Linked DNA regions of Homo sapiens: region 1 is linked to region 2. Evidence: promoter capture Hi-C in 16 types of primary human blood cells and fetal thymus (Javierre and others, 2016). All regions are on one chromosome and are shown on one strand. The core of a region is centred on a gene start or on the middle of the fragment in contact, and the rest is flanking DNA. Distances in the headings are between cores, read along the strand shown. Region 1 overlaps RNGTT (RNA guanylyltransferase and 5'-phosphatase). Region 2 holds the start of SLC35A1 (solute carrier family 35 member A1).

Region 1 (4,677 bases), core at 1,244-3,743, 1.3 Mb after region 2:
CTGCCCATCTCCTCCCTAGAAGGGAATTGTTCAGAACATTCTTGTCATAATTTATAAAATAAGAAAAGAAACAATAAAGTCAAAAAAGAGAAGACAAAGACTACTTGGAAATTAAAAATAAACTATTAAGGATCCTAGGAAGATGATAAATCTAAACATGTCTGACTTCTCCTCATACCCAACTCCAAAATATCAGCCTGTGAATCCAAGTGTCTACTGAGTAAAGTGAGGTATGAAATTCGAGGGCTTCCTAGCAGGGGAAATGATTGAGAAGACCCTAAAGACAAAGATTGGAAAATTAGCAAATCCTGAGAAGAGTACAGGCCACTGAAATCTAAAAACCCTAGAGATCAGGTCAACATTGGCCCCAGGTCATGTGCCTGACCTTCCTATGGGCTGAACATATTTGAAGCCTAAGATGAAACACTTTACAGAGTAGAGGATGTAGGGAACATTTCTCCAGTTATGATCCACCAAGATAAAGAACACATATATTTCCTTCTTGTGTAGACTGCCACCACTTAGAGCACTCCAAAAACCAGATTTGAGCCCCAGTGAGCCAATAAGGAAAATGGGAATAAAGTAACTTGTTGGGAACAGGCACCCAAATCTGGCCATAAACTGGCCCCTAAACTGGCCATAAACAAAATGTCTGCAGCACTGTGACATGTTCGTGATGGCCATGATGCCCCCGCTGAAGGCTGTGGGTTTACTGGAATGAGGTCAAGGAACACCTGGCCTACCCAGGGAGGAAAACCACTTAAAGGCGTTCTTAAACCACAAACAATATCATGAGTGATCTGTGCCTTAAGGACATGTTCCTGCTGCAGATAACTAGCCAGACCCATCCCTTTATTTTGGCCCATTCCTTTGTTTCCCATAAGGAATACTTTTAGTTAATCTATAATCTATAGAAACAATGCTCATCACTGGCTTGCTGTCAATAAATATATGGGTAAATCTCTGTTCGAGGCTCTCAGCTCTGAAAGTTATGAGACCCCTGATTTCCCCACTCCACACTCTATATTTCTGTGTGTGTCTTTAATTTCTCTAGCGCCACTGGGTTGGGGTCTCCATGACCGAGCTGGTCTTGGCAGAAACCTGTAAAGGAGCCAAAAGGCAATTAGAAGGAGAAAAGAACTGCACCCCAAGAATTCTATATCCAGGTAAGACATGATTTGCCTGTCTGGAAAAAGGAAGACGTTAGCAGTTAGGCAAAAAATTCAGATTAAAAATCTATATATTCCCATCTGAGAAAATTACTCCAAAGAACAAATGAATGTGAACAAGAAAGAGAAAATGAAGAAAAGGAAAAAGTGGTAGGTGACAAATCTTGCAGTATATAAATGCCATTAAATTTAAATTGAACCCAATTTAAATTTAGATCCAAACAATTTAGATCCAAACAAAACAAGATCCAAACAAAAAAATTCTTGAAATAAAAGTGACATTCATGTCTGTAAGAGAAATTCATAAAACAAACAAACAACAACGACAAAAAAAAACTACTAAGTTTTTTCAGTAATACCTGTAGGGATTGGGTTGGGGAAAATGTTCCAGTAAAATTTTCCAATAAAAGCTAGGGGGGAATGGGTGGTGAGAATAAAAGCATGCCAAAGACTTCTAAAGTAAGAAGAAAGGTAAGGTATTAGAAACTATTCTAAAATTTCTATATGATGAGGGGAGGATGAAAAGAACATCTTGAGGCTGGGCATAGTGGATCACACCTGTAATCCCAGGACTTTGGGAGGCCAAGGCAGGTGCATCACGAGGTCAGGAGCTCAAGACGAGCCTGAACAAGATGGTGAAACCCCATCTCTACTAAAAATGCAAAAATTAGCCAGGCATGGTGGCGGGCGCCTGTAATCTCAGCTACTTAGGAGGCTGAGGCAGAGAACTGCTTGAACCTGGGAGGCAGAGGGTGCAGTGAGCCAAGATTACACCACTGCACTCCAGCCTGGCCAACAGAGTGAGACTCCGTCTCAAAAAAAAAAAAAAAAAAAAAAAAAGAACATCTTGGTGGGGGAGAGTTGGTACTTTATTTTCAAGTAATAACAGAGAAATATATCTGATTATGAATATAAGGAAAGGAAAGGTAACCAATAATATAATGAAAAGTTAATAGACAGTTCAGGTTAACAAAGAGGAAAATGCAACTAATACCAATTATCACACAGAAACAATTTTTTAAAAAGGAAAGTTAAAGAGGTAAAATTAGGCCGGGCTTGGTGGCTCATGTCTGTAATCCCAGCACTTTAGGAGGCCGAGGCAGGGGGAACACAAGATCAGGAGTTCAAGACCAGCCTGGCCAACACGGTGAAACCCCATCTCTACTAAAAATACAAAAATCAGCCAGGCGTGACGGTGCGCGCCTGTAATCCCAGCTACTCGGGAGACTGAGGCAGGAGAATCACTTGAACCAGGGCGGCGGAGGTTGCAGTGAGCCAAGATCATGCCACTGCATGCCAGCCTGGGTGACAGAGTGAGACTCCATCTCAAGCAAACAAAAAAGAGGTAAAATTAATAAACAAAGTAGAAGGAATAAAGCGACATACTTTAGCATACAAATGTTGAATGGACTAAATTCTTGTGTTAAAAATAAGAGGCTACAGACTGAGTTAAATAAAACCAACTATATTTTCAAGTACACACTTAGAAAGTAAAGGAATTTTTCCAATGAAGGATTGAGTTTGATGCTTGAAAATAATGACTATATTGACTACATACAAATTATGCTTTATAATTACATTCTTAATAGATAACCTCCAGGTTTTAACAAGACAGCATCAAATCAGGAAAACTCAAAAAACATGGCTTTGGGGTTTACTCTAGTTTGTTCACTTGGAGCTAAGTGCTAGCAACGTCGGGGAAACTGTCCAGAGTGAAGGTCAAGGAAAACGCTGGATGGACAGGTTGGGAGAGTGAAGGTTATTAGCTTTTTATGACTCTTGTATCCTCAGACTAAAACCCTAAAAAAATTACACAATTTTATCACAAAAAAACAAATTGTCTTTAATGAACCACTTTTCAGTTTTAACAACTAACATCCACTATGCCACACTGCTACATTACCAACTAATTTCACAAAAGGACTAGTCATCAAACACGTAACCACACACTGATACACTATAAATGTATATCAGTTACTGGTCCCTGAGGATATGTGATCATGTATTTGCTATGTCCGAAAACCAGAGGATCTCAGCATGATAGTTTTGGCAATGACCTACCACAGTGAAACAAAAAGGATGGAGATACATGAATGGGAGAAAAGATCCACAACAAATTCAAGGAAAAGCAAGCAGGACAGGTAGTATTAGTATCAAGCTAGGATGAATTTAGGATTAAAAGCAATAAAAAGAAGTACATGATTTAATAACAAAAAGCATGATTTGGGTGACAGAAATATCAATTGTATATCTGGAGAAATCAAACCTAGTATCTAAATACAAAGGTATTAAATATGCAAAGCAAACTTAATTATAATGTAAGGCTTCAAGTATCTCTTATATGGGGTAGAGCTAGTAAAGAGAGTAAAGGAATTTACTAATATAAACTTTAATACTTAATTGCATAATCAAAGAGAAAATGTTGTATTCTTTAAATAGTAAAAATAATTTCACTGTTGTTATGTCTAAGAAATATCCAGAAAAGACAACATATGATGTTATAGACAAGATTAACAAAATGTTTTCAAAAGATTTTACAGACTAAATTTTCTGATTAAATTCAATGAAAGTAGGAACAAATAACAAAACATAACAAAATACATTTGGTTGAAAAGACAAAGACATATTTTGAAGTCACACTATAAGATTTGAAGTCACACTATAAGTTTTGACAGGCCAACCATGTAGCTAAATTTTTTGAAAGTTAATTCTAAACTCTTTGAAATTTTCCAACCTCAGATTCCAAAAAGCAACTTTTACTCCTATTGTTACATGTTTAAGTAACAGTCTTAGGCAATCTTCATCTGTCATATAAGCATTATCTTAAGTTTCAGTATACCATACATCAGACACATGGTTATTTAAGTGATTTAAAAGATTTCAAAACTATTTTTAAATGATTTCATATCTGTTTTTTCTTCTGTGCTTCAAATTCAGTTATCTCAGATTGTTTTTACTTATTTGATAGTCTTTGTCTCTATATTGCTTCATTTTAAAAGGTCAATGCTCCCTCCTCGTAAGAGAGAGAAAAACAAAAAGCCCTTAAGTGATTAACGTTTGGCAAAAGTGTTTGTGAATTGTTCCTTAATAATTACAATTTTTGATAAGAAATTACCAAAATTAATTTTATAACTGCTGTGATAATTGTAATTCAGAAATTCAATTTAGAAAATAATCACTGAATACACTCCAGTGCCCGGTACACAGAAAGGAATAAATGAACTAACGCTCAACCAAGAAGGGGATAGTCAAGTACACAAGGCAAGCCTCAGAGCTATTATACTTTCGTCGAAAGGTGTCTATTGCTCCAGGTAGTTTTTGACCATCTGAAATTATGTATATTTTAAGTAAAAATTCCTCAGATTTTGTTTGATGAAACTGACATATTTGAATAATACAGAGACCCTTTAAAAAACACAGAATGTTCCACATTTGGGATTTGTTTAATGCTTCCTCATTATCAGATTAGAGCTAGATACCCATAGTCAGAATGCTAGGTATAGTACTG
Region 2 (5,414 bases), core at 236-2,735:
CGTACATATATGAATATTGTTTAAATGTATGCATAAGTACATACACAGTAGAGAACTGAATAATTCTACTAGTGGAAACTGTATCAATTACAATAAGGGAAGATTAGCACCAGTGAGCACACTTACTACCAGGTAGAGGAAAAGTCCAACACTATTGCAAAATGAGATTAATCAAATGTCTGCCTCTACAAAGTCAACTCTGGTCTCCTGGGAGCCCCTCCCAATATTAATATGATGCTAATAAGGCATGCAAAATGTTCCAACAATGTTAACAGACCAGATATATCTATATGTATATTTAACAAGACAATGGTATACAACCAACCCTCTAAAAGGACAATTTTGGGGAAAGAACATGCTGCAGAAGGTGTGGGCTGCTGGGCAGCTCAGAATCTTGCATCCCTATTCCTGTAAGTGCTGAGGTATTTTCATATTATTTTAAACCAATCCACATATCTTGAACATCATTTATTTCACCAATGAATTATTTCTAATATCAATTATGATAGCTAATTAACATCCCCTAGTGAAAGTGGAGATTATAGTGGTTAAAATGCCTGTTGATATATCTAATTTTTTTTGTTTTTTGAGACGAAGTCTCGCTGTGTCGCCCAGGCTGGAGTGCAGGGGCGCAATCTCGGCTCACTGCAATCTCCCGGGTTCAAGTGATTCTCCCGCTTCGGCCTCCTGAGTAGCTGGGATTACCGGTGCGCGCCACCACGCCCGGCTAATTTTTTGTATTTTTAGTAAAGACGGGGTTTCGCCATATTGGCCAGGCTGGTCTCGAACTCCTGACCTTAGGTGATCCATCTGCCTCGACTTCCCAAAGTGCTGGGATTACAGGCGTGAGCCACCACGCCCGGCCGATACATCTGATTTTTTAAAGGCCGTTTTGTTGTGCGAAGATCATTAGTTAGAATGCCTGGCTGGGTAAATACAACCGATGACTGCTGACGATATGGAACAGGCACAAGACTTCTGAACGATATGTAGAATAAATTATAACTTATCTAGAACACAAGGTAACAGTGGAAGATAATGAGCCAGGTGGAAGTTACAAATGTTGCCGCAAGTAGTTTCTGTTACTTTACGAGTTCTGGGAGCTTCTCTAACAGCTTTGACAGGAGTGAATCCCCAAGGCTAAACCCAAATCCTTATTTGCCGCCTACTCACGCCTTTGTGAGGACTACGATTCCCAGACGGCAACGCTCCCTTCACTCAACTTCCTTAGCTGGCGGGGAGACGCAGTTTACAGAACTACCTCCCCAACCGAATTTCACACACCTGTCACCTAGGACGCGGCCGGGAAGGCCTCCCTTCGATCCGCGTTCTCCCCATTTTGGGGTGTAGCTTGGATTCCTGAGCCCAGTTTTAGTGCGTGGCCGACCGGGAGGCCGGCGAGGCGCTCTAGGCCGAGCGGCTTCGTCTCTATGACCACAAGGGGCGGTCCCCGGTGTCCTGCGCGGGGGCGCGGAGGGGGCGGGCGTCAGTTCCGCGGGGGGCTGTCGGGGAACCATGGCTGCCCCGAGAGGTGAGAACTGGGTCTGCTGGGAGTGGGGAGTCCGCGGGGGGCGGCGGCGGGCGAGCATCTGCGCTGGTCAGCCCCTGTCGGGCAGCGGAGCACCCTGGTTGCCCAGTGCCTCTGGGGCCTGGCTGAGGCGTCAGGAGTTTGCGTGGAGCCGCTCCCGGCAGTCAGGGCAGCCTGCCTTCCGCTGCGGCTGCAGTCTCCGCGGCTGACTCCGCGCTGGGCAGGTCGGAGTCAGAGACCGCACTGACCTCCACTAGCTGGGAGTGGGTGGGAACCGAATTCTGACAGGCCGGGGCTGCGGCGGACCCGGAGAGAGGCCAGGGCGTGGGTCCGGGGCTGGACCGCATTACCCAGCGAGGCAGGACAGTTCTTCACCCTGGCCCCGCGGCTCCGGTCTCCTCTGCGCCTCCTACCCTGTGGATGCTCAGAGGCTTAAAGGCAGGCTCCGGGCGCAGATCCCATGCGGCGGCTGGGCCATGCAACAACCACTAAAGACATCACTGGGGCGTCAAAACAGCACTGAAATCGTAACGAAAGGAAGATAACAGTCGTTAACAGTTCCCACCTGTATGCTGTGTGTAATTATAGAGAATGCTGTATGCTGCTATTTGGGGTGGAAGCTGAGATCCACCTCCCTCCTCCTGAGGGATGGCACATTCGGGTGAAGGCGTATTTGTTGACTAATTGACATTTAAGGAGGGCGAGTCTAATTGACTCCGCACCACTTTTTGCTGAGCAGTGTGTGTAAGTTGGGACCAGAGGTGGATTCTTTGACTGTGGTGCATTAACCAGGAGAAGTTGGGCAACACCCGGATTCTTGCTCCACCCTTCCTCCATAGAGCACTTGGCTTCACCCTTGAATAAATATTGAACGAATACATAAGGAATATCTTCTTGCGTGGGTTTCAAGTTATTTTCCCTGTTGCGGGGTCCATGTTTCTCATCAGGCCCTGCCCAGGGGCATTGTCTTTAGTTGCATATGCTTCTCTTATGTCTTCTTTCTGTTTCATTTCAAATAAGTCCAATCTTAAAAGCCTTTTTTTGTAGCAACACAGGAAATAAAAGAAAAAGAAATAGAATTGTTTTGATAACTAAAATGGAATGGGGATAGCAAAATTGATCCGAACGAAAACTTATAAATTACAGAAGTCAAATCATTACTTGAAATAGCTGCAACAATGTAAAGGTTTAGGCTTATTGCCAATACATATTTGTTGAGCCTTGATTGTAATCCTAACAAAACTACAGTTTCCATAGTTTCCGAATATCCACAAAGGATTTATCTGGGACTTACAGAATTTCTAAGTTCTTAAGTATTACAAATAATGTCCCCATAAACTATAGTAAAACATAACCGAAAAAAAACATTTTAAACTGTAAGTTTCTTTTGGGGGACATTTCCACACAAACACTATATGGGAGCTAATAGAATTTCGTGAGAAGCAGGGAACAATGCAGGGTTAAGATGTGGCTGCCAGTTGAGTTGTGGGCTAGCTTTATAGTTACTGGCATTGGGTGTGATTTGAATTATTTGCCCAATTTGAAGTGATTACATATGGACTTTTGCTGTTACCCTGAAATAATTGAAATTGCTAATAACTGAAGTTTTATACTGGAGAATTTGTGAATGGAGTGAACAAGAAATAGTTTGGTCTGATGTTAAACTGCCAGAGAAAATCGTACTTAAAAACATTTAGTATTTAAAAGTTGAAATACGTTTAAAAACTGGTATTCCATGTCAAAGCCCAATCTGTTTTGCACATACCTAAACTTATTTGATTACCCTTCCACTTAGATCAGTAGTTATTTTCAAGAATATAATATATATTCCCATATACTCACTATGCAAAAAGGTATTTTTTCAAGTTAATGACAATATTATAAGTCAGAATATGTTTGTAGGCTATCAATATTTGGTTTAGTGTTTAAATATTCACTTTGTTGTTTTTGGAATCAGGAACCTGTACAGTAGCTAAAATAAAGTACTTTTTAGTTTATCAGCCCTAACTTCTCTTATTTATGAAAGTGTTGATAATCTAGGACATGAGATGGCAAACTTTTCCTGTGAAGGGCTGGATAGTCTCTTGTCATAACTACTCAGATCTGCTGTTGTAGGGAAAAAAAAGTAGCCTGGATAATTTAGAAACAAATGAGCATGGCTATGTTCTAATAAAACTATTCATGGACACTAGAATTTGAATTTCCTGCAATTTTCACATATCACAAGATGTTATTACATTTTTTATCAACCATTTAAAAATGTAAAACAATCGTGAGTTCACAGGCCTCATGTAAACTGGCGACATATATAGTTTGTTCACCCTTTATCTAGAAGATGGGAAGTGCCTTCTCTTCTACTGATTAAAGGTTATTGCTGTATATTTTTGAAGTCATATTTCTTCCCTTGTGTAGGAAAGTTTTAGAACAAAGGAAGTATTATAGTGATCTCCTTCACTTCCTTTTATATAAACACTGATTTTTTGGCTCCTCAGATCTTTTGGAAAGAAAGTTTAAGCAGTTAAAAACTATTTCTTCTGTTTTACTTTTTATTTAAAACCTGATATGGTTTTTAAAAATTGCCTACAATTCAGAAAATATTCTTTAATGCACTCGGGAAAATATTTATATTGAAGAACCTGTTTCCTTGTAAGATCCAACCATACTGTATCTAAAGATAATCTGTTTGAAACTCCTGTTTTATTTCCCTATGAAAACTATCTTTGAATTGTGATTAGGCTCCCAAAGCAGTGAACAAAATCTTACTTAGCATATAATGTAGTTAAAGTAGCAGGCTGGAGTCACCTGGTGTCCTTCTGGTTCTTAACCTGGAGTTGTCAAAGTATGGCTCTGGAAAGCCTAAAATATTTGTTTCTGGCCCTTTGCAGAAAAATTTGCTGATCCCTGTTTAACCTTGAGCCTAAAGATTTGAATGGAGGTGAAGGGGAACTGGGGGACAATAGGTGGGAGGTGGGTGAGGAAAGTAGAAATAGTTTGATCCTTGGGTGATGGCAGTACCCGAGCAGGTCTGGGAATAAGGAAGTATGAGGGAGACTTGGTACCCACTGCTTATGGTTTTACCAAAGGTCTTGGACAGGCTCTGGTGCCTGAGAGATGGCTGCTGCTCAGATATACTTGCAGGCAATTCTTAAATTAAGTGTTTATATGTTTCCTGCATTTCTAGTTTTATAGAGGTGTGTTCTTAATATTCTTTTCCTGTGTTATGAATTATTGTTTTGTATAATGCAATGAAATGAGTGGCTAGTTGTAAGTTCTTATTGTGAAAAAGTTTTATATTAAGCCCCACTCATTTCTCAATTATTATTTTCTTTCTGCTGCCTTTAAATCTAGAATATACATTGCTGCAGTTGGTTTCATGCTTTGCATCCACAAGTTTGTAATCATAAAAATATTTAAAATATGTGCTGGGGCCAGGCGTGGTGGCTAATGCCTGTAATCCCAGCAGTTTGGGAGGCCGAGGTGGGTGGATCACCTGAGGTCAGGAGTTCGAGACCAGCCTGGCCAACATGGTGAAACCTCTTCCCTACTAAAAATACAAAAATTAGCTGGGTGTAGTGGCGGGTGCCTGTAATCCCAGCTGCTCAGGAGGCTAAGGCAGGAGAATTGCTTGAACCCGGGAGGTGGAGTTTGCAGTGAGCCGAGATCACGTCAAGATCATGCCACTGCACTCCAGCCTGGGTGACAGAGTGAGACCCTGTCCTAAAATATATGTCTGGCACGGTGGCTCACACCTGTAATTCCAGCACTTCAGGAGGCGGAGGTGGGCGGATCACTTGAGGTCAGGAGTTAGACACCAGCCTGGCCAACATGGGGAAACCCCATCTCTACTAAAAATGCAAAAAATTAGCTGGCTGTGGTAGTGCACGCC

Evidence for each region. The method cuts DNA at HindIII sites, captures the fragments that hold promoters and counts their contacts. A CHiCAGO score of 5 or more calls a contact.
Region 1: a contact is called between a fragment that was not itself captured here and the fragment with the promoter of SLC35A1 in region 2, in 1 of 17 cell types (naive CD8 T cells). The highest score is 5.3, in naive CD8 T cells.

What each region holds. Positions count from the first base shown.
Region 1 is chr6:88,753,976-88,758,652 of GRCh38, forward strand. All of the region lies in intron 13 of RNGTT (RNA guanylyltransferase and 5'-phosphatase), which reads right to left. Among named protein-coding and RNA genes, the nearest start is that of RNGTT, 210 kb to the right of the region's middle. The HindIII fragment of the contact is 6,935 bases long and covers 1-4,677 here.
Region 2 is chr6:87,471,489-87,476,902 of GRCh38, forward strand. It overlaps SLC35A1 (solute carrier family 35 member A1), which reads left to right and starts at 1,486. Exons shown (of 8, transcript NM_006416.5): 1 at 1,486-1,531. The coding sequence starts at 1,516. It overlaps LOC124901357 (a long non-coding RNA gene), which reads right to left and starts at 1,457. Exons shown (of 2, transcript XR_007059668.1): 1 at 1,285-1,457; 2 at 1-1,010. RefSeq lists enhancers at 1,133-2,039, 2,035-2,204, 2,255-2,354 and a silencer at 1,445-1,584. The HindIII fragment of the contact is 12,962 bases long and covers 1-5,414 here.